Regions from separate parts of the Homo sapiens genome. Here all the other regions are linked to region 6. Evidence: promoter capture Hi-C in 16 types of primary human blood cells and fetal thymus (Javierre and others, 2016). All regions are on one chromosome and are shown on one strand. Each heading gives the region's core, a stretch centred on a gene start or on the middle of the fragment in contact. The rest is flanking DNA. Distances are from core to core; before and after follow the strand shown.

Evidence for each region. Contacts are between HindIII fragments. The CHiCAGO score rates a contact against its expected background, and 5 or more counts as called.
Region 1: the fragment with the promoter of OLA1 here is called in contact with the fragment with the promoter of LNPK in region 6 in 2 of 17 cell types (non-activated CD4 T cells and total CD8 T cells); the score reaches 5.8 in non-activated CD4 T cells.
Region 2: a contact is called between the fragment with the promoter of IFT70B here and the fragment with the promoter of LNPK in region 6, in 7 of 17 cell types (total CD8 T cells, total CD4 T cells, activated CD4 T cells and 4 more). The highest score is 9.2, in total CD8 T cells.
Region 3: a contact is called between the fragment with the promoter of AGPS here and the fragment with the promoter of LNPK in region 6, in 9 of 17 cell types (M2 macrophages, naive CD8 T cells, total CD8 T cells and 6 more). The highest score is 11.9, in M2 macrophages.
Region 4: a fragment that was not itself captured here is called in contact with the fragment with the promoter of LNPK in region 6 in 2 of 17 cell types (fetal thymus and naive CD8 T cells); the score reaches 6.1 in fetal thymus.
Region 5: the fragment with the promoter of SCRN3 here is called in contact with the fragment with the promoter of LNPK in region 6 in 8 of 17 cell types (naive CD4 T cells, total B cells, naive CD8 T cells and 5 more); the score reaches 8.7 in naive CD4 T cells.
Region 7: a fragment that was not itself captured here is called in contact with the fragment with the promoter of LNPK in region 6 in 1 of 17 cell types (total CD8 T cells); the score reaches 5.0 in total CD8 T cells.

Annotation. Positions count from the first base shown.
Region 1 is chr2:174,246,301-174,250,227 of GRCh38, reverse strand. OLA1 (Obg like ATPase 1) reads left to right here and starts at 1,696. Exons shown (of 11, transcript NM_013341.5): 1 at 1,696-1,776; 2 at 3,413-3,513. The coding sequence starts at 3,413. RefSeq lists a silencer at 1,391-1,910. The HindIII fragment of the contact is 2,463 bases long and covers 1,324-3,786 here.
Region 2 is chr2:177,551,178-177,555,281 of GRCh38, reverse strand. It overlaps IFT70B (intraflagellar transport 70B), which reads left to right and starts at 2,486. Exons shown (of 1, transcript NM_152517.3): 1 at 2,486-4,104. The coding sequence starts at 2,519. RefSeq lists enhancers at 2,220-2,509, 1,878-2,681, 2,682-3,486. The HindIII fragment of the contact is 6,507 bases long and covers 1-3,654 here.
Region 3 is chr2:177,390,498-177,394,101 of GRCh38, reverse strand. AGPS (alkylglycerone phosphate synthase) reads right to left here and starts at 1,329. Exons shown (of 20, transcript NM_003659.4): 1 at 1,053-1,329. The coding sequence starts at 1,312. LOC100130691 (Putative uncharacterized protein FLJ44553) reads left to right here and starts at 1,411. Exons shown (of 9, transcript NR_026966.1): 1 at 1,411-1,529. RefSeq lists a silencer at 1,110-1,329. The HindIII fragment of the contact is 4,249 bases long and covers 1-2,835 here.
Region 4 is chr2:177,265,014-177,268,822 of GRCh38, reverse strand. No RefSeq gene overlaps it. Among named protein-coding and RNA genes, the nearest start is that of NFE2L2, 2.2 kb to the right of the region's middle. The HindIII fragment of the contact is 1,496 bases long and covers 1,127-2,622 here.
Region 5 is chr2:174,393,756-174,397,353 of GRCh38, reverse strand. It overlaps SCRN3 (secernin 3), which reads right to left and starts at 1,624. Exons shown (of 8, transcript NM_024583.5): 1 at 1,537-1,624. It overlaps CIRSR (corepressor of RBPJ and splicing regulator), which reads left to right and starts at 1,642. Exons shown (of 10, transcript NM_004882.4): 1 at 1,642-1,803. The coding sequence starts at 1,732. RefSeq lists enhancers at 696-1,196, 1,694-1,743. The HindIII fragment of the contact is 1,293 bases long and covers 1,312-2,604 here.
Region 6 is chr2:176,000,030-176,004,052 of GRCh38, reverse strand. It overlaps LNPK (lunapark, ER junction formation factor), which reads left to right and starts at 1,786. Exons shown (of 13, transcript NM_030650.3): 1 at 1,786-1,893. RefSeq lists an enhancer at 1,373-1,592. The HindIII fragment of the contact is 1,642 bases long and covers 1,172-2,813 here.
Region 7 is chr2:177,332,142-177,336,241 of GRCh38, reverse strand. It overlaps LOC100130691 (Putative uncharacterized protein FLJ44553), which reads left to right. Exons shown (of 9, transcript NR_026966.1): 3 at 1,713-1,849; 4 at 3,991-4,100. Among named protein-coding and RNA genes, the nearest start is that of MIR6512, 20 kb to the right of the region's middle. The HindIII fragment of the contact is 492 bases long and covers 2,605-3,096 here.

The DNA of each region.
Region 1 (3,927 bases), core at 447-2,946, 1.8 Mb after region 6:
TAAGGCAGGAGAATTGCTTGAACTCGGGAGGCGGAGGTTGCCGTGAGCCCAGATCACGCCACTGCACTCCAGCCTGGGCGACAGAGTGAGACTCCATCTCAAAAAATAAAAATGAATTCTCGCTGAAAGGAAACAGATTTTTCAGATAGTTTTAGTTTTACTTTTTATTTGTATTTATTTTGTTAGAGATAAGGTCTTGCTCTACACCCAGGCTAGAGTGCTGCGGCAGTGATCATAGCTCACTGCAACCTTGAGCTCTCAGGCTCAAGCCATCCTCTCACCTCAGCCTCCTGAGTAGCTGGGACTACAGGTATGTGCCACTACACCCAGCTAATTTTTGTTTTTTGGTAGAGATGGGGTCTCACCACGTTGTCCAGGCTGTTCTCCAACTCCTAGGCTCAACTGATCCCCCTATCTTGGCCTCCCAAAGTGCTGGGATTACGGCCAGATTTTCAGTTAGATTGTGGTTTGAAATATGCTGCTGCCATTTACTAGTTGTGTGACTTCATCCAAATTAATCAACCTTTCTGATATTGTTTCCTCACTTGTAAAATGGGGATGGCGACCTATTTACATCCTTTAATATTAATAGCAACTAATCCCTTTAAAAGGAGCTTCTAGTGTCACAATTTTTGGACAGGTATCATATTCATTACAACAAATACCTGAATGACATCTGAAGGCCAGGACCTAAATGAAAGAATTCCTTCTCCAGTGGCGCTCATGGTATTGATATGATGTGGGTGAGATGGGATGAAATCCTAATATTAACAACAGCGACTACTCACAAGCCTTTTCTGTATGTGCTGAGTACTGTTGTTATGAGCTCAACACGCATTGTCTCATTTTATTCTCACACGAATAACCTCATAAGGTGGTTTTAATAGCCTCATTTTATCCAGAACGAAATTGAAGTCCAGAGAAGTTAATTTGTCTAGGGTCATACAGTCAATGAGTGGCGAAATCCAGATTGGAAATTCCCAAATTTCAAAGGCCCCTGCTCTCAACTACCAAGAGGAAAAGGGGGGAAATTGGCTCAATTAAACGCATTCTGTGATCCAGTACCTGTGTGCGACGCTTTAACTATAAGGCGAGGAAGAAATCCCTAGACCAAAGTTTCCCTTAGCCCCTTTTCCTTCAAGAACTTTTAGTTAACAGCTTCTCTCCGCACAGACTGAGCGAATAAAGTTATAGAAAAGGGAGATGGGCTAGCGGCCACGCGGTCCTCGGGGCTGGTGTGGCTGTTTGCCTGACTTCAGACGCCCCGGATCTCCCGGAGGGAAGTCAGGGCCCAAGGCACTCCGCAGTCCAGCTGGGAAAGCTTGGGGCTGTAGGCCCGCGAGTGAACGTGAGCAGGTAACCCAGGCCGCGCAGCCAGACGGAAGCGGAGACCTAGAACCGAGAAGCCCACGTGCCGAAGCGGAAGACTAGAGCTCCCGGGAACGGCCTAGCCAGCGCCTTCCCCTCTCCAGCTCCCTGCCGCCGCGCGGCTCCTCCCACCCTGGGCTCCTCCCGCCCTACTCCCGCCTCCCCGGCCGGTTAGGCCAATGGGCGGGACGCGCGGGCAAGGCGGGGAGGGGCGGGGCCCATGGTCTGCGCGCAGGTGCCGCTCGGCGCCCGGCCCGCCCGTTCCGCCGCTGTCGCCGCCGTCGTGCGTGCCGCTCGGCGGAGGGGACGGGCCTGCGTTCTCTCCTCCTTCCTCCCCGCCTCCAGCTGCCGGCAGGACCTTTCTCTCGCTGCCGCTGGGACCCCGTGTCATCGCCCAGGCCGAGCACGGTGAGGCCCTCAGGGAGCCCGGGGGCGCGATCTCCGCCAGGTCTTCGGCGCCTGGGCTCATTGCCCTGAGGCTGGCGCGGGGCCCGGGCCCAGTGGCCAAGATGGGGCCAGGGCAGCGGGTGGCTTGGGGATGTGTGGATGAATGAGGCGCTGTCGGACTAGGCCGCGCGTCGGGAGATCGGCCTACGCCTCACGCGGGAAAGCCCTGGGGAAAGCCTTCTCCCGACGCCAGGACGCCCGGTGGCCCAGTCCGGAGAGGAGGATGGGGGGTGGGGCCCACTTTGGGTGGGCTGCCGGCCACCTCTCTGTAGGCCAGAGGACCCGACAGGCGCTGTTCCTGTATCTGTTCTTTGGAGGCCTGGGAGTTGGCCAGGAACAGGTGTCAGGACGCTGAGAAGGGAAATTCCTGGCCCTCGGGGTCAGGGATCAGAGGCTGGAATACTACTGCAAGGGCAGGGCCCCAGCGTGGTCCTAGGAGGTACAACTCTCAGCCAGAAGACTGGGACAGTTTTAGTTCCCAGCTTCTGAGACGTGAGCTTAGCGGTCTTTGTGATTTCACTTTGCAGTCCAAGGGTGGGAGTAATTCTGCACGCATGATTTGGAGACAGAACTAGTAAGGGACAGAGAAAGTTTCGACTTGTAAATAAAAAGGTTCCGTCGATTAATTTACCATTAGAAATAGTAACCATAATGTAGATTTTGGAGGTTGCTTATGAGGACTGATGAGCCGTACCTTCAGTGCCAAAGGTGGGAGGGACTTGGTGGAAGGACCCCAGTACCTGGTGGGTGTTCATCTATGTGAAAAATGGGGGTTGTGGGCGAATGGGAAAGATAAGATTCCAGATTATAGAGGAATGGTTTGGTGTGAAGGGTGACTTGGCTGCTGGTGGTTCCACAATGGAATTTTCTTTGACTGTCTTCTGTGTACTTGCTTCCAAATGCTTTCTTTCATATAACCATATATCAGGTTAAGATATAAAGTGTTTTGTGAGCAGTCTGGATGGAAGATTGGTAGCTAAACTCTAAGTTTATCTTTGATTCCTGGTGCCACAAATATTTTATTTATTTATTTATTTATTTAAGACAGAGCCTAGCTTTGTCGCTCAGGCAGAGCCCAGTGGCGTGATCTTGGCGCACCGCAACCTTCGCCTCCCGAGTTCAAGCAGTTCTCGAGCCTCAGCCTCCCGAGTAGCTGGAATTACAGGCTGCGCGCCTGATGGCCGGCTAATTTTTTTGTATTTGTTTTTCTTTTTAGTAGAGACGGGGTTTCTCCGTGTTGGCCAGGCTGGTCTCGACTCCTGGTCTCAAGCAGTCTGCCCACCTCGGCCTCCCCCTCCCAAAGTGCTGGGATTACAGGCCTGAGCCACCGTGCCCGGCCCAACAAATATTGATTTTAGATCAGTCTTTCTGGGACTTCTCAGCAATGACTCTTTTGACAACGGATATGTTTACAGAACTTTTTAAACATTTTTGCTGAAAAAAAAGTGGATTTAGCTCTGTGTTAGTTTTGGATCGCTATATACAGTATGTTTTGTTCTTAATCTTAATTCAATAATATATTGTATGTGATGAAATGTGTTTTGGGTCCATGTGGATAGTAAAAAGTTTTGTTCATATGTTTGCTTTGGTATTTCAGATGCCCCCTAAAAAGGGAGGTGATGGAATTAAACCACCCCCAATCATTGGAAGATTTGGAACCTCACTGAAAATTGGTATTGTTGGATTGCCAAATGTTGGGTAGGTGAACGTTGGGGCTTTTGTGATTTTCATTTTGTAAATATTTTGGGTCCTATTGTAGAAATGGGAACCGTGAGGTAATTAAACTTTAAGTTGAAGAAAAGAGGCCAGGAAGCTGGACTATTAATATTGCAAAATTAGGCTTTAGTTTAGATGTATTTTATTGATTTCAGTGCTGGTTGGCTATGTGTGGTACCTACATAGGCTGTCTACCAGAGGCCATGCAGTAGGCTACTTTAGGAAATTGATTTGAAAGCTCCACCATAATAAGCTTGATGGAGAAGGAGGTGACAGTTTTGAATTTCGTAGTGGAAATCGTAAAAGGTTTGCTGTTATAAAGAGTCTAAATCTGAAAGTTCTGAGAGCAGAAATTTGAGTTTTGTAATATTTTCTTTTCTTTTTCTTTTTTTTTTT
Region 2 (4,104 bases), core at 1,237-3,736, 1.6 Mb before region 6:
TTGCATATTGTTTCCAAGGGACAAGTGTCAATCAGGCAGGCAGTAAGCAGAACACCCCCTACTCCTTGAATATTGAGCAGCACTAGCCAGCATCTTTCAATCTACAAACACTTCTGGATTGAAAACTGGATAAGGCTGTAGCTGAGATTGGGGAGAAAGAAGCCTTGAAATAGGGTTACAGAAGCCTTCCTCAACTGCTTTCCCTGGTGTTCTTGCATGGTCCAGAGCTACACTCAACCTCTCTAAAATGAGTGCACTTTGTCCCTTTCTTGGTATTGATGCAGTAGGAGGTTTCTTGTCTGTTCTCATCTAGAAGGACAGAACTGTGGCAAACTTCTCAGCAAGAGAGAAGAATACAGGAGTACGTGAAGTCAGCTGCTTTATGGTATAGCATTCAGATGCCTACTGAAGTTCCTTTTTAGGTATAACAGGTGACCATTCCCAACTAATCACTTTCTAATACTTGCTCACAGTTACGACTTAGGCCAAGAAGTTCAAATTTCCACTGGCCAACCCAAGGTGGCTGGTTGCTTTAACAGGAAAATAACAATATAAAAAAAGCAAGACACTAATATTCCCCTATAACTGGGCCCATACATGATAGATAGAGTTAATTCATCAGTGACTATTACCTACTGAACTTAGCTTTGGAATTTCATGATTCAGCTGCTTCTTATCTAGCTGTGTCATCTCAGGCAAGTTGCCTAATCTTTCTGATTCACATGTTCTTCATCAGTAATATGCAGAATACAGGGTGGTTATTATGATTAGAAATAATATATATAGGTGGTCTAATAGAATGTGATGCAATATGGTTGGTGTTGGCTCCAAAATTTATATGTAGAAAAGATTTATGAACAGCAATACTGTTGAAGAGGCAGTAAGGTACCTGCATTGAAGTATTTAATTATATAGCAAAGACATGCTCTGACTTGGACTGTTTATCATGGGTGGTAGTGAGGCCAATGGACATCATGGAAGACTACAAAAGACAATGCTCTGTCCCAGGCCACCATATGATAGATGTTAATGAATTACAACTATTATTGTTACCTTGAAAACTACACTATTTACAAGTACCTCACTGGGATAAGCCAAATTCATATTTTGCTATCTTGTCTATGTCCCTAATTCTTGATTGAAAAATTGTATTTATTCTCCCTTAAAGTCTATGGTCTCCAGGTCAGTTTATCTAGGGGTATTTTTTAAATTGGTGATTAAATATAATTTTATGGAATAATTAAGCCCCTAGTTTTTCACAGCCCCATCATGGCCACTAATAAACTGAAAAAAAATTATACAAAAATAGCCCCAGGATAATAACATGGAATCTACAGCATCTATTCCAAATATATAACAAAGAATGAAAGAAAACCCAGAATGATATCTTGTACAGTCTAGCAAACCTGCATAGAAATCTTCAAACTAAGAATCTGGAAAAAAAATTAAAGTGTAGGCAATCTTTTCTTATTTTAACAGAAGAAAATCCATATTTATCAGTTCAATATCCAAAATCCCTAGAAGGCTGAAAAGTACAAACTGAGCATGTGTGTCTCTCACACACCCACACATCACTGGCTGACTAATTTAGTAGTTAAGAGAGAAGAGTAAAAATGCATAGGGAAAGGAGCACATTTTAATGTCTTGGATTTTCCCCTCTTGGAAAAAACTGAAGTCATGCATTTCTCCAACGTTTCTACCTAGTAGTGAAAGTTGGAACTCCAGCGCAATGGGGATGGCCAAGGGTAAACGCCAATATATACTCAGTAATATTTGTTGTTACGGGAAAAAAGAGCGGGAGATACTTGGACCTAAAACCGAAACTCTCCCAGTACCAATCAAGATTCACAGTCCTTTTTCCTCATTAACCTCTGGAAACCACCAAATTAAGGATTCCTGCTCGCCGCTCTATTCCGTTCTTACAAACTGTGCCCTCGGGGTAGTGCAAAAAAGAACGTGCTCTAATTCCAGGGTAATTCCAAGAGATAACTCGCCTTTTGCCATCCCGGTTCTTTTACTGAAACTAAACCAAAAGCCAGCATTATTATCGACCACACCGTGTACCAGGCTCAAAATCGCCAGGAACATGGGGCCGGAAACCTTCCTCCGCCGCGCCAGAGACCACGGTGCCATAACAGACACAGTGAGCGCCCCTCATCTTTAAGAGGCAGGGAAGGAGAGTTACCCTGCACCCCCACGGGCCGCCGGTTCGGTAGGTACAGCCGGGACTACGTCTCCCAGCATGCAGCGCGGCTACGACCCGCGCCGCGGAACCACTGGAACGGTGCATGCCGGGACGAGTAGATTCAGTCTCTGAACGGCCCGGAGTAGTCTTTCCCCTCCTGAATGCCGCCACTCCGCAGTCCAGAGTATTTGAAGATCAAGCTGAAATTGAGAGACTGACGAGAGTGGTCCCTTTTTGTTCCTAACAGATTTCTTGCGACAAGGAAACCGGCAGTCTTCCGCTTCCGGTTGCTCTGTTGCCATAGTAACCGCACCCATAACAGCCGTGGTGGTTATGGCTGGCCTGAGCGGCGCGCAGATCCCCGACGGGGAGTTCACCGCGGTCGTGTACCGCCTCATCCGCAATGCACGCTACGCCGAGGCGGTGCAGCTGCTGGGCGGAGAACTGCAGCGGAGCCCTAGGAGCCGCGCCGGCCTGTCGCTGCTAGGCTACTGCTACTACCGCCTGCAGGAGTTCGCGCTGGCGGCCGAGTGCTATGAGCAGCTGGGCCAGCTGCACCCGGAACTGGAGCAGTACCGCCTGTACCAGGCCCAGGCCCTGTACAAGGCCTGCCTTTATGCGGAGGCCACCCGGGTCGCCTTCCTTCTCCTGGATAACCCCGCCTACCACAGCCGGGTCCTCCGCCTGCAAGCTGCTATCAAGTACAGCGAGGGCGATCTGCCAGGGTCCAGGAGCCTGGTAGAGCAGCTGCCGAGTAGGGAAGGGGGAGAGGAAAGTGGGGGCGAGAATGAGACCGATGGCCAGATCAACCTGGGTTGTTTGCTCTACAAGGAGGGACAGTATGAAGCTGCATGCTCCAAGTTTTTTGCCGCCCTGCAGGCCTCGGGCTACCAGCCTGACCTTTCCTACAACCTGGCTTTGGCCTATTACAGCAGCCGACAGTATGCTTCAGCACTGAAGCATATCGCTGAGATTATTGAGCGTGGCATCCGCCAGCACCCTGAGCTAGGTGTGGGCATGACCACTGAGGGCATTGATGTTCGCAGTGTTGGCAACACCTTAGTCCTCCATCAGACTGCTCTGGTGGAAGCCTTCAACCTTAAGGCAGCTATAGAATACCAACTGAGAAACTATGAGGCAGCTCAAGAAGCCCTCACTGACATGCCACCCAGGGCAGAGGAAGAGTTGGACCCTGTGACCCTACACAACCAGGCACTAATGAACATGGATGCCAGGCCTACAGAAGGGTTTGAAAAGCTACAGTTTTTGCTCCAACAGAATCCCTTTCCTCCAGAGACTTTTGGCAACCTGTTGCTGCTCTACTGTAAATATGAGTATTTTGACCTGGCAGCAGATGTCCTGGCAGAAAATGCCCATTTGATTTATAAGTTCCTCACACCCTATCTCTATGACTTCTTGGACGCTGTGATCACTTGCCAGACAGCTCCTGAAGAGGCTTTCATTAAGCTTGATGGGCTAGCAGGGATGCTGACTGAGGTCCTCCGGAAACTTACCATACAAGTACAGGAAGCAAGACACAATAGAGATGATGAAGCTATCAAAAAGGCAGTGAATGAATATGATGAAACCATGGAGAAATACATTCCTGTGTTGATGGCTCAGGCAAAAATCTACTGGAATCTTGAAAATTATCCAATGGTGGAAAAGATCTTCCGCAAATCTGTGGAATTCTGTAACGACCATGATGTGTGGAAGTTGAATGTGGCTCATGTTCTGTTCATGCAGGAAAACAAATACAAAGAAGCCATTGGTTTCTATGAACCCATAGTCAAGAAGCATTATGATAACATCCTGAATGTCAGTGCTATTGTACTGGCTAATCTCTGTGTTTCCTATATTATGACAAGTCAAAATGAAGAAGCAGAGGAGTTGATGAGGAAGATTGAAAAGGAGGAAGA
Region 3 (3,604 bases), core at 80-2,579, 1.4 Mb before region 6:
GGCCATGAAGTCAATTTGATGTGCTTTCAAATTCTAACCTGTCACACAGCATATCTGCTAAGACTCCAGCAGACTTAATTTATTCATCTGTAAAATGGGAGAAAACCGCACATACCTCATAGCTTGGGAAGAAACAAAGGATTTAGCACACTTTGGCACACTTAAAAGTACACTTTAAACATTAGCTACTTATTTTTTTCACTCTCGGTTTATCCATTTATCCACGGTGACAAAGCCACACGTCAGAAAGTAGCTTCTCCTAATAGCCTTCATCAGAGATTGAGGAGATCGAGACCATCCTGGCTAACACGGTGAAACCCTGTCTCTACTAAAAATACAAAAAAAAAAAAAAAGATTTCTCCAAAAACATCGAAAGTCAAGATCTCTTACAAACATCCCTCATCGGTTAGACTCTTGTCTTTTAGCTTCTGGTTACACAGAGCTCAGTAGCTATACCACCACACCTTAAACCACTAGCTAGTGTTTGCAGTTTATGGCTTCTTACCATTCATCGGTTTCCTCCCTCAAAGTCAATACATCTTGATCCTAAGCAAGTGGAACTTACCCCACAGAAACCAGTCAGCACCTTTTTCCAGGGCACCACCAGTTTCCCCCACAGCAGGCTTTCGCGAATGAGAGAGATTCCTATGATCTATCATCTAGTACAAATTTATATCTCCTCGGAGAAAAATAGAACCTCTGCTACCCATTCCAAGACCTCAGCACCAAAAGTATTAATTCAAGATAAAAAATGAATTCCTGGCACTAAAAGCTCAGGAAAAAGGAATCCTTTAAACCCTTCTCCAACGAGAGTTCTTCAAGCCTGTTACCCTCACATAGTGACCAAAATCCACCATCCCATCCCGCCCCCTTCCTGACAGAATCCAGGGTCTAGTCCACTCTCTCGAAAGAGAGGTGGGTCCCTACTTTCAGGGACCGGGATGCCTTCCGCCCACCCGTGTCACTTCCCTTCCCACCTCGCCTGTGCCCTCCTGCAGCACAGGCCCGGCCTGGTCCCTCGACGCTAACTCCTTCCACATACCGCTACTCACCGCTTCTTTGGGATGGTGCCCGACTCCTGCGCGGCGGGAGTGGCCGTGGGCGCTGCCGTGGCCGCCGACGCGGCTCTCCGCGCTTTGCACTCATTGGTACTCAGAGCCTCCCGGGGCCGGCCCAGCAGATGGCCAGAGAGAACCCGCAGCCTCCGCCCGGCGCGGTCCGGGTCCGGGTCCCGGTCCCGGTCCGCTGCAGACCCGTAGCTCGCGCCCGCGCCCAAGCCAGTCCCACCCGCTGCAGCCGCCGCCTCCGCCATGGCTACCGCCTTGTGCTGCCGCCCGGAACCGCTGGGCGCGGGTGAAAGGTCACTCAGAGCGGCGCCCGGCGCGACCATTCGCTGCGGCGCATCCCGGCAGCCACCGCGGCGACTTGGCGGCGGGTGCCATGCGTCTGGAGCTTCACATTCTCTGCCCCCCACCCACCGCGCCGGCGCTCCCTTGTCACGCCTCGGGAAGCGCGCACCTGCCAAGCAGGTGAGTTCGAGCTGACTCCCGGTTGGCCCAGCCCGGTCCAGCTGGACCGAGAGCCAAACCACGTCCGCCCTCGAGGTGTCCTAGAACCCTGGGTGGTGTCCTCGGGTGTGGCCTGGGGGCTTTCGAGGGCAGATGCCTTGGAGCAGGAGAAATGGGCAGTGCTACTGGACCTGATGGATCCAGCGGCATCCTTTTCCTGAAAGAGATTCTAATGTTCCACCTGTGCTCTTCCTCCCTGCGGGGTCACCAAAGTAACTCAAAGCTGACCATCATTGCCTCTAACCATTAGAGCAAATAGCTCTATCATTTTCTTATTTCTCACCACCTATTTCGTGCCTGGCACTGTGTTTAATGCTAGATCACAAGTAAGTACAGAAACTGAGTTGCAACTTAAGTTCTCATTTCATTCATTACTGGATCCTAACCCCTTCCTAACTTTAATAGAGATAAAGTTTCTTATTGCTACAGACAAAAATTACCCAAGAGCTGTGAAGACATCTCAGTTATTTACAGATTGAATTCATTTCTGGAAGATAGCACGTGAAAAGTGCTCCTCACCTGTTTCAGCCGGTGTCTTGCATAAGAATTAGCTTAGACAAAAACTCACATACACTGGCCATTGTCATTCTCCATCCTGTCACCACTTTCACATCATGCTTTCCTAACAAGAAAAATATTGGCAGAGGAATCTGAAGAACACCACATCCATGGGACTAGAGACTAACAATTGCTCTCTTGGGTGTTGCCAGCTTCTAAAATTGAGATTATGCCTTTAGAGTGAACTTCCAAAGAGGCCCAGACTGGTTAAAAACTCTCAATTAAGGGCTAAGCAAATTGCTGTTGGAGGGCCAGCTCTAGTCTGTGGCCTGTTTTTACACAGCCCTCATGCTAATGGTTTTTGTATTTGAGAAGGGTTGTTAAAAGAAAACAAGAAATTTTTTAAAAGAATATGCAACAGAGACCTTATGTGGTCCCAGAAGCCCCAAAATATGTATTACCTGGCCTTTACAGGAGGTCCGAATGTCTTCTGAAATTTATATACGAAGAGATACCAAACCATTGAAAACAGTCCAAATGTCTAGCAACAGAGAAATGGTTAGTCAATATGTTAAAATACTTTTGCAGCTATTAAAATAATTTAGTACAGTTGTAGAAACAAGAAAGAATTAGGAATTTGTTAAATATAAAAAATGGCCATAACCTAGGCATCTTATACGTATCTATTTAATCAATCTTTGCAGTAACACAATGACACAGTTTTATTATCCTTATTTTATAGATGAAGGCTCAAGGAGAGTAAGAAGCTTTTCTTAAATAGCTATATTTTATCTCAAATATCATATACTTCATGTTATTGTCCTTATTCCACCATTAGAGTTTGGGGCCATTAACATTTTACGTTAAAATTACTTACGTAGGCTTGGGGTTTTTGTTTTTTATTTTATAGATTCTAAAATTGAACTTTCTAAAATAAATTTTCACTTTAATTATAAACTATACTCCTGGTTCTTAAGGATTGAGTTCTGGGAAGAATTTCAGAGATTGCCACCACAGCTATCACGACCTCATTCATGAGGTGCAAGAACATGAAACACATATAGCACTTTCCTAGGTATTTATGACTGAAAAAAGAGAATCTTTAGTTGATCTTGTAAAATTAAATATCAAAGCCTGCAAGCCACTAGTTTCTGGCTTTTGCATACTTTGTTGCCTACCCTCACAACAAAGAAGTTGCACCTGATTGACATTTTCAGTATTCAACTGATGACCAGAAAAGTGGCTATATGCTCCTACATGTTTGATAACAGAAGAAAAATCCTAGCTTCCTTTCCTTTACTTGATTTTGTTGTCAATTAGAGGAATTGTCTCTTATTTTAAAATTTTAAAACCCACTTTGCCTTCCAGTGTCATGTACATAATTCTAATGGTGTTCTTTTTGTCTTGCACAATCTGAAGAAAGTCACACTCATCTCCTCTGACCTGATAAAGCAGTCTCCAAAACAGATAGATGGAGGTGGCTCAATCCAATAATTAATGAGCCAAGAATTATTCCTGTATACTATCCCCTCAGTTCA
Region 4 (3,809 bases), core at 625-3,124, 1.3 Mb before region 6:
CCAAGCTAATTTTGTATTTTTAGTAGAGACAGGGTTTCTCCATGTTGGTCAGGCTGATCTCAAACTCCCGACCTCAGGTGATCCGCCCACCTTGGCCTCCCTGGGATTATAGGTGTGAGCCACCGCGCCTGGCCTATACTGGAGTTTAGTTTATCCACTGGGCAGGTTGCTCAAGTTCAAACTCCCTAAGCAGATATTCAGCGAGTATCTTACATAACTGGCACAAATGAGGTCATATCACGGTCAGAACCTCTGTATGCATTTATCCCTCCATCTACTTCATTGATAAAATGTCTGTGTTCGTGAAGTGTATTTTGATAAGGAGACTATCTCTCCATCGTCTAATAAAATGAAACTTATGCATGGTGTGATGAGGTTTTTTACTTTGTATGTAGCAACAAAGATATGTTATGGGAAAGACAGCTTCCTCATTCCCAGGGAAGTCATTTTCTTCTGAGAGTCTGAGTTTTATTAAATCACCAAGTATCATCTCCCTGTTTGTGCTCCCAATGTTGGTTAACAAACAAAGAGCAGCCAGGGGAAACCCTGCCTTTGATAGTCACCATACATACAGTATGCTGTTTTGGTTATCAATTGCTATGAAACAAACCACCCCCAAATTTAATAGCTGAAAGTGATTTATTATAATTTCTCACAGTTCTTGGTGTTGACTTAGCTTAGCCAGGGAGTCTTCTGCCGGTCTTGCTTACAGTCTCTTGTATGTGACTGCAGTCATATAGCAGCTGGAGCTGGAGTTCTTTGGGGGCTTGAATAGGTGGGCTCGAAGGTCCAAGATGGTTTCTTCATTCACATGTCTGGTGTGTTGGTTCACATAGTCTCTCTCTCTCCATTTAGAGTTTCATCTTCCATGACTTTTCCCATGGCCTCTCTTTCCATCAAGGTAGTCAGACCTCTTAGGATGATGGCTGACTTCCAAGAGTATAAAATTAAAAGCTGTCAGGGCTTTTTCAAGCTTAGGTTAAAACCTGGCATAATGTCACTTCTGGCCTCTTTCCATACCTTAAAGCAAGTTGCAGGGCCAGCCATGCTTGTTTCAATATGAGGGGACTAGACAAATGCCTCAATATCAGGAGAGGTGGTTTACTGGGTGCCATCTTTGGAAGCTTTCTATACTTTACACTGGACAAAGTAGAATTTCAACTACAATTCTAAAAGATTATGAATATTTTCTGGCTCAAACATGGAGAACAATTGAGAGGAAGTGACAGAGAGAGGAAGAAGCCTCAAAGTGATGGAGGATTTTGAAACAATCGGTACTTTCTTGCACCTTGCAACTTGGCAGATTGGAGCACAAAGGAGGTGGAACTAAGGGGTCAATGCATCACCATTATCCAGACTTCTTATACCCAGAAGACTTACTTGATGATACTTTTTTTTTAGACAGAGTCTCACTCTGTCGCCAGGCTGGAGTGCAGTGGCGTGATCTCGGCTCACTGCAACCTCCGCCTCCTGGGTTCAAGCAATTCTCCTGCCTCAGCCTCCCTGAGTAGCTGGGACTACAGGCGCATGCCACCACAACCAGCTAATTTTTGTATTTTTTAGTAGAGACAGGGTTTCACCACGTTGGCCAGGATGGTTTTGATCTCTTGACCTCGTGATCCGCCAGCCTCGGCCTCCCAAAGTGCTGGGATTATAGGCGTTAGCCAGAGCACCTGGCCAATGATGCTTATTTTTTATGAGCAATCTGGAGCAAGGTATCACAATTGACACATCTCAAGCATGTAGGGAAGGCCGTCTTCCCAAAGACAGCAAATGATTCAGGAATCAATGAAAAGGTACAAGAGTCAATAGAACATAAAACCAATTGGAGGGTATTTTTCCCAAATAGTAGCGAGGAGAGCCTGGCAGCAAAAAAGGATCCCATGGCAGCAAGACAGGAGAGAAAAACCAGCACCTCCTCTTTCTTGTTCTTTCTTGCTCCTCCAGAGCTTCTCAACATGCATTATCTGTGCCCTCCTAACACAATAGGCAGGTTTGGAGGGCAAAGCAAGGGCTCAGGCTCTCATATGAAGACAATCACATTCCAGAGTCTGCCAAGATTGGGCACCTCCTTGACGTGGGTGGTCTTGAGAATGGGGTTCCCTTTATTTGGCTAAACCAAATGCCAAACAGCTTTTCCTTAGTGTTTGTTTTTCTTAAACAAGTTCAAACTCTTATCATATTGCTCCCCTCCCTTTGAAAATATGTACTCTGCAGATGCCTGAAATAACACACTCTCAGCAAATTGCAGCATTGGAAAAGTGAAGGTTATTTCATTCAGTCTAAACTCAATGGAAATTTTGTGGCTTAACAAGGAAATACCAAATACTTTATAAACTCCTTTAGAGCAGTAACCATGTCATATGACTCTGGTATCTCCTACCTACTAGGCTCATTGTCTACCTTCTCTGATGTCGTAATTTTAATAAGTAACTTGAATTGTTAACAATTTACTCTTGTCTTTTTCTTGGACTCAGAAATGTTATTTTATTATTATGTCTCTGCATCTTTCATGTGAGGTCCTTTGCAAACAGTTTTCTCCTAACTTGTTTTCATTGTGCAGATCATGTTGCAGGGTTTTCACATAACAGCTGAAAGGAATTAATAGGAGTTAAAGAAGCTTGCTTCAATTACAAGTAATTAATTTAGGCTTCACTTATCTCAAGGAATATCTGAATATACAAATTTACACATAAATCCTGGGAGTGTCAAATTATGCAACCTAGAGAAAGTAAGCTCTGCAGCTTTTTGGGCGTTGATTGCTATAGTCAGGGGTGTGTGTGTGGTTTTTGAATGAAATAGCAAAACCACTGCCAGTATTATCTACTTCACCTGGTTTTGAATAATTCCAGGAAGCTAGAAACTGAAAACCAGTCTTGTATAGAGTTAGAAAGATTGTAAATGCAGAAGAGGAAGAAAAAAACAAAACTAAACCATTTATCTATCCTCTTTGAACCCTTATAAGAGTTCACAATATTCCTCGTTTCAAATACTTGAAGTCTTCTCTGGGCAATGATTAATTTTTAAATAATTGTTTTTAATGTAAGACATAAAACATACGCACTGCAGATTTAAAGCATACTTGGAAGTAACAAGGAGAAACATAAAAATCGTTGATTCCACAGCATTTAATATATTGGTAACCTTCAATTTTTTTCTAGGCACGTTTTTATAAAATGAGCCAATACTATACAAACGTTTTTGTAACTTTTTTTAATTTGTACTATTTTGTGAGTACGTGAAAAAGAAATTTGTAAAGAGTAAACGATTACAGCATGTTGTGGTATTACACACTGTTGAAGGGCGCCATCTGTGGCGTGGTGGCTGCGCTTTGGTGGGAAGAGGTTCTCTTGGGGTTCCCGTTTTTCTCCCAGCTCTGGGTGGGCAATACTGACCACTCTCCGACCTAAAGGGGCTTCTCCGTTTGCCTTTGACGACCTGAGCTTAGGAGAATGGAGACACGTGGGAGTTCAGAGGAGGGCGTTCAGGGTGACTGCGAACACGAGCTGCCGGAGCTGTCCACATCTCCCCTAGGCAGGGCCCACTGGCCCCAGCCCGGGAAGGGAGCAAGGGCGGGAGGGCAGTTGGCAGTGGCACGGTCTGGGTCCAAATCTTTAGCCCCCCCCACCCCGGCTGGCGCCATTCTCGGGCGGTAAAGTGAGATAAAAGCAGGGCAAGGTTCTGCAACTCCAAATCAGGGAGGCGCAGCTCCTACACCAACGCCTTTCCGGGGCTCCGGGTGTGTTTGTTCCAACTGTTTAAACTGTTTCAAAGCGTCCGAACTCCAGCGACCTTCGCAAACAACTCTT
Region 5 (3,598 bases), core at 375-2,874, 1.6 Mb after region 6:
CTAAAGGTCCTTATTTTGCTGCCAGAACAGACACATTGTTTTACAGAGTTTCCTTCTTTCCTTTAATAATGGCAAAACCTTAAAATGGCTTTACACAGGCAGATGCTAGCAACTTAAAAACAAAATTTAAATATAATAAATGTTTCCTTAAAAAGAAAAGAAAATGACTAAATAAAAACTTCAGACTGAAACTCTTAAGGGTTTTCCTCTTCTCCTCAGTGACGAGAAGTCTGATGTCTTGATGGCTTCTGTTATTTTCTTTCTGTATTTCAACTCTTATGTCCTGGATCTCCTTCTATTTGTGTTTTATAGTTAGTTCTATCACTATATAACTTTGGCAGACTATTTAATCTCTCTCTTACCTATGCCTTCTGCCTCATCAGAAAAATAAGACACTATTTGATGGGCTGTTATGAGAACTTAATAAGGCAACACGTAAAGTGTTTTGCACAGTGCATAGAACATAGTAGATACTCACATGAAAGCTGTTATTGTTATTATTTGGTAGGAGAGAAAATTTCTCATAAAGGCTTATTCGTTTTTTGTTTTTTTTTTTTGATGGAGTTTAACTCTTGTTGCCCGGGCTGGAGTGCAATGGAGCAGTCTTGGCTCACTGCAACCTCCGCCTCCCGCGTTCAAGTGATTCTCCTGCCTCAACCTCCCGAGTAGCTGGGATTACAGGCGCGTGCCACCACACCCGGCTAATTTTTCGTGTTTTTAGTAGAGACGGGGTTTCACCATGTTGGCCAGGCTGGTCTTGAACTCCTGACCTCAGGTGATCCACCCACCTTGGCCTCCCAAAGTGCTGGGATTACAGGCGTGAGCTACCGCGCCCGGCCAAGGTTTATTCTTAACATTACCCTGATAGAGAACTTGGTTGGTGGATCACCTGCTGCAGTAGCAGCCACGTCCACTCAAAAACCTGGAGTCCCAAGGGCCATCAAGCTGCAATAGTAACCTGAGCTGCCTAACTGGGGTCGTAGGGAAAGCTAAGGAAACTTGCCCCCTGGTTAGAATTGCACCTAGCCCACTGAGGAGGTGAAGCCTTGAGAGATTTTACCAACTCCTAACGCGTATTCGTCATTCAATAAGTATTTATTGAACGTCTTTCGGCGCCAGTACCGTACAGCTGGGTACAAAATAGACAGGGCCTCCGTTCTTGCAGAGCTGTCTGTCATTCTATTTCACGCGCTCTTAGTTCAGCCGGCGCTTTCAGAAACATCATATTGTTGGATTCTCGCAAGCATACTACGGTTAGGGCCGGAATTATTATCTTCATAACATAGATGAGAAAAACAGTGCAGAAAAGCTTTTGCAGCTCGAGTCAGAGTCCACAGAAAGTAATGGGCTCGAGCTTCAAGCACCTTTGGTCGAAGGGCCGCCGCGGTCCACCCCGCACCCCGGCCCTGGGCGCTCAAACCGCAGCCGGTGCAGCTGGGCTCCGGAGCCCCTCGGTCAAGCAGTGCCGCGCCACAGTTGGGTCTTCCGGGTTTCTGTCTCAACTATGCACGCCCCTCCCCCGTGCGCGCCCCTCACCTGGCCTCCCAGCTACCCGAAGTGACAGGTGGACGGAGGGAGGAGTGGCCAGTGGAGGCATCAGTTGCCGGAAGCTGTCACCTTTGATCTCGGAAGTTCCCCCTTGCTGCTGGAAACGCAGTTCCGGTTAGGCGGCTGAGTTTGTTTACGTTGCTAACAGATCTAGCCCCTGCTTTCCCTAGTTCCAGTTCCAAGATGGGGAAATCCTTCGCCAACTTCATGTGCAAGAAAGACTTTCATCCTGCCTCCAAATCCAATATCAAAAAAGTGAGTAAACAGACCCGGGGAGGGATTAGGCCCACAGGGACCGCCTTCCCAGAGGCTGCTGGAAGTGAAAGTGATGGTGTCTCTGAGATCCCTAGGACAGCCTCCGCTTCTCTAGGCCTAAAGCCCTGGTGGTCTCGCCTTTCTCTGCTGAGCAGCTCGCTGACGCAGCGGGTCCTCAGCGTTTATTCTGCAACAGCGAGGAGACCGGTGGCCTAGAGAATCTTTGTCGGCCAGAATGCAAATCCATAATATGCGAAGACTAATGTCAAAATTCCTCAGTACTTCCTTCAGCTGATTCTGGTTTTTTGTCTTTTCGGATCCCAGGGATCACGGCTTCTGAACTCTACTTTTCTGTACAAAGAAGCCTCCCCGTTTACTTAAGATAGATCTTTAAAAAAATTACCTAATAATCTAGTGTCTTTTTGATGACTAAACTCGTTGAAGTTTAGTGTTTTACATAATTACAGGTCTACCAGTTGTAATACTTTGGTGAATATCATAGTAATGAAAAGCAAAAGAGTGAAGTAGAAAGAATCAGCTTTGGAGTCAAACCTGGATTCTAGTTATTCGAGCAGTCACTTTTAGCCTTAAGACCTTGCACAAAATATTTGTAATATCTGACCCTCAGTCTTCTAATCTGTAAATTAAGGATGATTGACTTAATTGTGAGGATTAAGTGAAATAGTGAAGATAAAGGATTTGAAACAACGTAGGCATCTATCACTGTGTCCACTACAGAGAGGAGGTGCTCAATAAAATGTTGATTGCCCCTACATAGAAACTTGTGAAAATAACTAAGCTTTTATTTGTTTTTAGAACGAGTTGAGGTGATGAGATACTGCTATATACTCTCACTTCTAGACCAGTGATTCTCAACTTTTTTTTCACTGTTACCTTCCTAAGGAGTCTTATTAAACATTTTTTCTTAATAACTCCCCCATGAAATTTTAATAACACAGATACACCTTGAAAGCTCTTTGGTAATCATCCAGCCCCATCTCCTCATTTTATAAATGAGGAAACAAATTTGCCAAGAGTTACACAGCTAGTTAAATGTTGTACCAGAACTAGGATCTGGAACACCTGATTAACCCAGTGATTTTTTTTCCACTGCACCAGTTTGTGTTTGTGTGGTTGCAACTGTGGGAGGGAGAGGTTTCTTGTATTTGGTTGGCTCAATAACTTTTGACACCAAACACAGACATTTCCTTTCTCTGCATACTTAGGGGGTCAGCTGTTACTATTTTTACAAGAATGAAGAGATTAGATGGAATTCAGGTGCTTGCTTATTTGCTGTTTATATTTAGAGACAAATATACCTGAGAAATCATAATTTTTTACTGGAACTTTTGACATTTCGCTTTATAAATTTCAATGTATCAGCTTTCTTACAAGAAAAAAGAAATCCACAGAGAATAACTTTTGCAAGTCCGCTATGAGAAATTCAGTAAAGCAGTTATAGGCTTAGAACCTACATTCTTCTCATCTGTGTAAAGTGTTATGTAAAATGTACCAAATATTGTTGGCCTCTTTGATCTGTTTTATACTTTTCCCAGGATAGAGGAGAAGAATGAAATGTTTTTGATTAGCAGACCTTTCTAGATAGTTAACACTTTATGGGGAGAGGGGGTGACCTCTAGCATTCTTTATTAACTAAGGATAAAGGAACTATATTAAATGAAGATAAATAGAAAAATTTATTAGGGTAGGAGGAAACTTTTGGAGGTGATGGATATGTTTATAGTGTAGATTGTGATGATGGTTTCACAGGGATATACTTGTCACCAAACTCAGG
Region 6 (4,023 bases), core at 537-3,036:
AGGAGGCAGTGGCTTAGTGTTACCTTCAACAGTGTACATAATCTTTCTACATTTCAGTTTCCTCATTTGAAAAATGATACTAAAAAGGTTGTTGGGAGGATTAAAAGAGTTAATGATTAAATACTTCTCTCCCTTCTCTTTCCAGGTCAAATCTCTACTCTCGGTAGAGCAATTCCCTAGGGAATTTTATCTCAGGATTAGGTTTTTGGAATCTCGTGTATCCAGACAGCTCTTCTCTGTCCCCTTGCTACCCTTTTTTCAGAGGTGGGGTATCGCTTGGTAGCCCAGGCTGGAGTACAGACACTGATGGCTCAATTGAAACCAGAGGACACATTACTGGCAAGTGGAAAGCCGTTCTTCCCAGTCTTCTTAGGAAAGGAGATCTTTCTGCGGTGAGATATATTTGCAAAACTGCACAGGACTTTAATACTTTGCAACAGCAAAGGTTGAAAAACAAAACGGTTAAATTTCCACATCAAAACAGGTGAAATGTTTCTGTTCATTTTCTTCTACATTTGGAAAGTGCCTGATCCACAGTGACACGCTAAACTTCAGTTCCCTTCCCCTCATCCTTGCAAGTGTACAGAACTGTAACTAAATATTTAGGCAATTAGGGCAAGCAAATTGCACAGTGAATTATGCGGTAGCTTCTAGTATAATAAATTTTCTTACCAACCAAACAATGCTCAGTTGCTTCTCTTGACAACCTGTTTGCATCGTCAAAGTTTAAATGTAACATATTAAAACTATTACTCTTTAAAAAATCATTGAAACTTTTTTGTGTATAAATAAAAAAATAGAATAAAAATAAATAAAAAATAGAAAAAAACCCATGAAAAATGTTTGCACATGGGGTAAAGCATGTAAAAGGGGTAAAGCATGATAAAAACCTTCGCTGAAGTTTCCCTGCTCACACATTACTGTGTGCACGTCTAGTCTTTTTCTCATTCAGGCATCATTTGTTATTTGTCTTTTCCAGTTGAGGAGGACACTTAATACCGTTTCGGCAGCGTTTCAAATCCGAGTCAAATATAGCCTGAGTGGTTTTTTTGTGGGTCCACCTATCAGGGCCTGTGAAGAGTGTTCTTGGGGTTAAGAGTTCTAAGATAGAAAACTCAGCTTATGCTGTTACCCGCAGGTTTTAAAGCAACATGATACGGCGTTTGAAGCTTACCTCACACCGGTGAGGTAAGCGTCCAGTCATCAAATGACCCTTTTTGACGTCCAAGAGTGACAGAGCCTCAAGCACTCCTGGGGACCGGGCTGACTTTTCTCCACTGGCTTGGTTGGGAACTGGCTTCTTCGGAGCTGTGTAGTCTTAATTTGCTTTGCTGCTGGCTGGCTGACAGCTGATGGGGGACTCCTCAGGACGGACTCCCTTCCAGATGCACCCATCTCCATCCTTCTCAACTCCCCAACCTTTGTCCTCCCCACTCTTCGCTCGCGCGGCGGTCTGAGACCACCAGGACCAGTTTCAGGGGTTTCCTTCTCCAGCGAGACTTGGCAGAACAGGCTTTAAAAGCAAAGGAGGCAGCGGAAGAGTAAGAAATAACTATATTCTAAGAGTCATAATAAATGGCAGTACATAACTGCGACACGACACCGAGCAGCCTAAGCTGGCTGCGGAGGCCACAAACACAAGATCCTAACCTCCCGGCCGACCCGCCCCAACAACTACCCGCCCAGGGTACGGTCACGTGACGGGGGAGCGGCGCGCGCCGACCGCGGCGCCAATTGGCGAGCGGCTGGAGCGCGGGGTTTCATGGGAAGGAGTTGGCCCGGCTTGTCTCTCTGTCAGTGGCGGCTGCTGCCTGCTCTGGAGGCAGGCTGGGCGGTGGCGGCCGAGACTGGCGGGGGTGGACGCCCGGGCCGGGCTGCGCCCGCTTCTTGCAGGTAGAACGCTCAAGGCGAGGGCAGTTGGGAGGGCTCTGCAGCGGGGAGGCATGCTGAGCTGTGCCCCTGGGAAATAAGCTGCGGGTTCCCCGCTTGCCTCTCCTTGGTGCCCCCGCCTCCTGCCAAGTGGCCTAGAGCTCTGCGGCGGCTGCTAGTCAGGCTGCGCGGTGGTCCGCGCAGACCCAGGCTCGCCGCCTTGTTCCCTGGATTTCCCAGCACACTGGCAGTGGTGGCGCTGGAGTCTTGAAACCCTTGTTTCCCCTCTAGGGCTGGTAGTTTCTCCAGCTCGGTTCTAGGAGATTCCGGGTGGTGACTGGCTTGAGCCCCAGCTCTTTGGCCCACTTGTGTCGAGCTTATCTCGACACAGGTGGGGCAAAGAGGTCAGAAGGTCCCAAACTAGCATTTCCTACGCTCAGCTGTCCGCTTTGAGCGTTCTCTCCGCTTCTCTTTCTGAGTTGTGCGGAGGCTCCAAGAGTTAGAAAGACCAGAAGGGACTGAAAACTGTCAGTGTCATGCTGCCGGGCTCTAGCGTGTGGGCGTGGAGTACGTGCTACTTAGAGAAGAGACTCTCCAACCATTGTCCTTATTTCAGGGATGGTGGGCTGTGGGGTGGAGGGGAAGGGCGAAGGTGCATTGTATCAGAGGCGTGGTAGGAGGAGAAAAACAAATCTAAATTCCGTCAGTTCATAGTTTACGGATTGAGAAAGAGTTGAAATTGGTCAACTCAGCTTTGCTGATGGTGCTTTCACAGTACTAAGCAAGACCCGTGAATCACTGAGTTTTCCGTGTTCTGCTTTTCCCAGTTGGCCTCCGGTGTGTGTTGCTCGGTGTCTACTGTTTCCTCCTTTCTTTATGGCCTGGGTGTCAGCATTGACAAAATTGACTCTATTCAACAGCGGTTTGGTGGGTGTGAGTAAGCTTGGTTTCAGGAATATGTTCAAACTGGCAGGGAATGCTCATTTCTTTTCCTCAGCAGCCCCCAGAAGACCAAGTTGACTTTTAACACATTTTCTTAAACAGGAGTGGTGCGTTTAAATTAGAATTTTAAGGTTGTCTGTTATCTATTGAGATCAGCTCAGTAATGATGTTAGTAAACTTATATAGTGTTTATATGTTATATAAACAAGAAAATACAAGAAAAGGAGAAGTTATATGGCTATTAAAAATATATGACTTCACATAGAAACATTTATAATCAAATAGTAATTTTTTGGTGGTATTTAGTTCAGATGAAAATTGACTTACCATGAAAGCAAGCACTAATCATTATATATTAAGAGTGCTTAATATATAATAGAGGTGTACTTTTCATTAAAATTCTTTTTGAGGAGCAATAAATGTGGCTTGGGCTATTTCAGAATTGTCTTTTCAGTTAGGACATTTGAAAGTTAGAATTCTAGAATAAATCACCTTTACTCTTCAATTGTATAGTATAATATGTTATGGAGGTACTGTTGATGGTGATTAAATAGCTTATACTTAACTTTGGAATTTGATAAACATAGAACTTCCTTTGCTGTTTCCTTCAAAGACCTACAAGGTTATTTAATGGCAGAGTCTACAGAATTTTTTGCTCTATTTCTTATACTAGAGAAAATGAGAGCAATCTATTTTTGTAAAAATACAAACTAATATAATTTTCCAATTTTAGAATTATGAAATAGGTGCTTTCTTTATAAGAAGTTAGAAATGTGTTTCATATAAATACATGTGTTTTCTGGTAATAATAATGGCTACAATTAAGCAGTTACTACTATGTGTCGGACACTGTGCCAAATGATACATAATTTCATTTAATTTATACAACAATTCTATGAAGTGTAGATATTTTTACCATTTTGCAAATGCAATAACTGAGGCGTGCAGAGTTTAAGTAATCTGCTCAAGATTGCATAGCTAGTATGTGGTTGAGCCATATTTTGAATCCAGATCTATTTTATTGCATTATTTTAATGTGTCTTGGAGTGAGGTGAAAATTTAAGAAAAACATTTCCCAAGATTTAAAATTCTGACACCCAAACCTGAGTGTAAATAGCCATTAGTAGAAAACATTCAAATAAGGTGGTCATTATTGTTCATTGAAAAGCACATTTAGGTCGGGTGGGGTTGCTCACGCCTGTAATCTCAGCA
Region 7 (4,100 bases), core at 1,601-4,100, 1.3 Mb before region 6:
CAGCCAAGGACCACTGAAGGAATAGTCTGATTAGAATGCTGCCAGAACTTGGTGAAGAACTGTTATAGGAAGAGCCTAAATAGAAACTAAGGACAGTGCCACCACCAGACATTCTCTTCTCCTGAATTACTGACATCATCACTGTCTCAGTAGATAGCTTGATGGTTTCTGCATCTTTGCATCACTCCTTCTGGATTCAATGTGGGAATCCCACTGGACAAACTTCAGTTATGTGCTGATGTCCTTGCTGTCTAGAAGAGGAAGATATGCCTTTTTTCAGTTCCTATAACAGGAAAAGTGTTGAGATGCCAAATACCAAAGCACACAAACCCCAGACACACAAACACATCCAGGACACCATACTTGGGTTTGTTTCTGGACTCACTGTTTTATTGGTTTGTTTGTTTATTTTGCTGTCATTATGCTACTGTTTTAATTTCAGCTGTTTTATCTTTTTTAAAAAATCTAGCAGTTAAAATCCTCCTTCCTCTCAAATGGTTGTCTTTTTTTCTTGACTCTTTTCAGTTTAACTTTTCTCAAGGAACTTCAGAACTCTTTTGTAAAGTTTCAAAAAAAATTCCATTGGCATTTCCATTGGAATTGTATTATATTTATGAATATATTTGGGGAATAATTAAAAAATTTTTAAATGCCGAGTGTTCTTATCCAAGAACATGGTATATCTCTGTTTAAGCCTTGGCAATTTTATAGTTGTCTTCACATAGATTTGACATACTTATTAAGTTTATGTTTTTGTTATTCTGGTAATTACAATTTTTTCCACTTTGTTTTCCTTTAAAAGAGTTTCAAAGCCCCCCTTTTGGACCACAGAAAATCTTAACGTGTTATAACCTAACTATGCAAATAGCTCTGTGATTCTAATTTCTCTTTTAAGCAATATAAATCATTGAACTACATTCTTCCTATGTTTATCCAGCTTTCCTTACCAAATTAAATCTCATACTTTGTAGTGTAAATTTGAGTTTGAAAGTTAAAGGTAAAGAATGTTTTCCAGGGGACTAAAACAGGAAAAATACTGTCAACAGAATTGAATAAATTGGAAGATGGAGGCCACTGCGCTAGTACTACAGTGCCCCCTAGTGGAAAAAAGGAAGCATGGGCATGTTTATACCAAGAATGACCCCAGTCTCTCTTCCACAGGCAATTAGAATCTGGAGGTGTGTTAGTGGTCAACTAGGTCAACTCCTCTGGCTTCCAAAAAGGGAAACTGAGAAACAAAATGAAGAAATGACTGGCCCAAATTCACATTGTCAACCCAAGGCTTAAATCCAAGATTCCTAACTCTCATTTTTCTTCCTTTTTGCTACCCTTTCTTTTTTCTTCCTTCCTAGTTCAAAATATATTGTGCTCTTATTATAAAGCACAATATATTCTAGGAATGTGTTCTAGGAATACAGATATAAAGAAGATTTAGTCGTTGCCTTCAAATCTAGTTTTACTTCAAGCCTAATTTTTTTAGCCATTTTCAGGGAATGAATTTGTTGGGGAATGACCAAACAACTATGCAGGGGAAGGTTCTCAATCATCCACAAATTGACTCACAATATGATTAATTAATTATTGAGTTTTAACTGGAAAGTACAATCACAAATGTGAAAATTGCCCTTGATCAGATTCAGACCATTTCATGAGGAGGTAAGGCATACTTTCAAATGGCCTGCATTAACCTTAATCTTATTTCTCCTTTGCAGATTCAAAACTGTGGACTATCTTGCAAAAAATACAAGAAGATATTGAAAGTTTTCATGAGTGCCTACCACCTAATCTCAAACACTATCATTCATATGTGCCTCATTGAGCAAATCTTTAATGAGGATCTATATGCCAGGTATGTGCTAAGCTCTGTGCTTAGTGTGGCAAAGAGAACAGATATGGCCTTGAGGTTTCTGCTCTCACAAAGCTTATAGTCTCCTATTTGTGTATGTGTAATTCTCTAAAGCTCAGGAAAGCTGTTTTCCTCATTTTTCTTTGGCATCATATTTTTAGGCTATAGAAATCAGAAAGTACGCAAACATTTTCTAAAATTACTCTGCCCCACAAAAAGGGAAACAAAAATAACAATTTGGGGCCAGACAGAACTGGATTTGAATTCCAAGCCTGCCCTTTACAAGCTATTAAACAAGCTTATTCTCTGAGCCCCTGTTGTTTTCATGAAGTGGAAATAATATGTATCCCTTGTAAGGGATCATATCCTTATTAATACCTAAATAGAGACATTACTTTTTGAGTCAAAACTATGAATTATATGGTCCATCTCCTAAAATGCAGAAAAATTATCTAAAGAGAAGCATTATTAATATTGTTCACTTAGTTTCATCAAGAATGTCACTTTCCAGAATTAATACAGACAGATATTCTTTGCCATTGACTTTTTCTTTTTTTTTTTAAATAAGGTGAAATGCTCTAACAATGGATGCCACTATAACAGAGTTTCTGTAAGGCTATTAGTTTCTTTTTCCATGGATAGTTTCCATGGCCTTGCTCCACATAAACTAAACCCTATTATTTCAGTTATGATGACTAAATCTAGTATGACCATTATTTATCTGTATAAGGGATCTTGTAGTAATCTGTGTATAAGCTTATCACTCCATCTATTTAATGATTTGACTAAGTCAAGGATCATATTTTATTTCTCTCTGTTCTCCCCTCCCAGTGGTACCTTACACAGAATTAGAGCACACTAAATGTGTTCTGAGTAAAAAGACTATCTTACTATGTGCTGTTTGACATGTAAGCTGAGAGAGAAAATTTGGCATATGTTGTAGGTAAACTTACTTTGTTTTACCTGGGAGTAGCAAGTATCAAACAGATCCTACTCCTGTTACAATCCTGCTAGAGAAAAAAAGTAGTTAAATTCCCCAGTCTCTACTCAAACCAAAACAAAACTTCAAAAATATTGAGACACAGAGAGAAGGAATAGGATGGGGTCAGGGAGGACTGGTGTTTCTGCGTAGTGTGCATGCAGCAGGCTAATGTCCTTTCCCTGTTGTAATAGCTCCGAATGTAAGCGCCACACAACACCAGGTCTATGAAAAGCCCAGGGTTTCAAGGTCAAACAAGTTTGGGAAAGCTTGCCCAGCATTTTCCTCTCTTGCAAGCTGGCAGTGGACACTGGTAAATTAAAGCCTATAAAAACTGCTTAACATTGTTTTACCTTGCAATCCCCAAATTCATTTGACCAACGTTTCACCTATAAACATCCCGCAGATCTGGTAGATTCTGTGGAAGGCACAGACTTCAGGAAACTGCTCCACTGTGTTGAAAGGACTTCTTTCTCTTGTTAATTCACACACAAAAAGCTGCCATTTTATTTCCAAATCCTACAGAACTGGGAATGTGAGCATTTCCAGCAATGTTTCAACTGTAGAAAAGTGAGACCACTTTCTGACAATTTAGAGGTCCCAGAAAGTTTATACAATTGAATTTTAGGTATGTAAGGAGTCAGTTCGAATCCAGGAAATGGCTTCCCAGCAATGCCTGGAATGTCCTCACAAAAACTGAGAAACAGATATCCAAGTCCTGTTTTGGATCTTGGAGGGACAGAGAGAGAGAAGAGAAAAACATAAATTTATAGTCCCAAATCTCATGATGTTTCTTCCAGTTTTCTACAAATAAATACACAGTATCCACTTTCCCTGAACTCCATCTTGGGACTTTATTTTTGCGTGTTTCCAATTCTCCTCTCTAGATGGCAGCACAGATGAAAAAATGCCAGAAAAACAGCAGGCCAGACTCAGCGGCAGCAAACTGCCATCAACAGCCCTCCCCCAACTCACTCTTCCTTTTTTTTTTTTTTTTTTTAAGAAACAGAATCTAAGATACGATGGCCGACACTTTTTCCCAAATAGATTTAATCAGTTACATGGGAATACAAAAAATGACTGACGACACACCGATATTAGTGATCAGGGGAACTGACTCTAACAGTGTCTCTTACATGTTACTTGTGTTTTCTGTATCTTAAAGATAATGTAGGCATTGTTCCTAAGTCATGCAGAGGGGTTGTGTAAGCATGGTCATTTGCATCATTATCCTGCACGTCTGATACAGCCAAACTCCACGCCACCTGGTTTGCT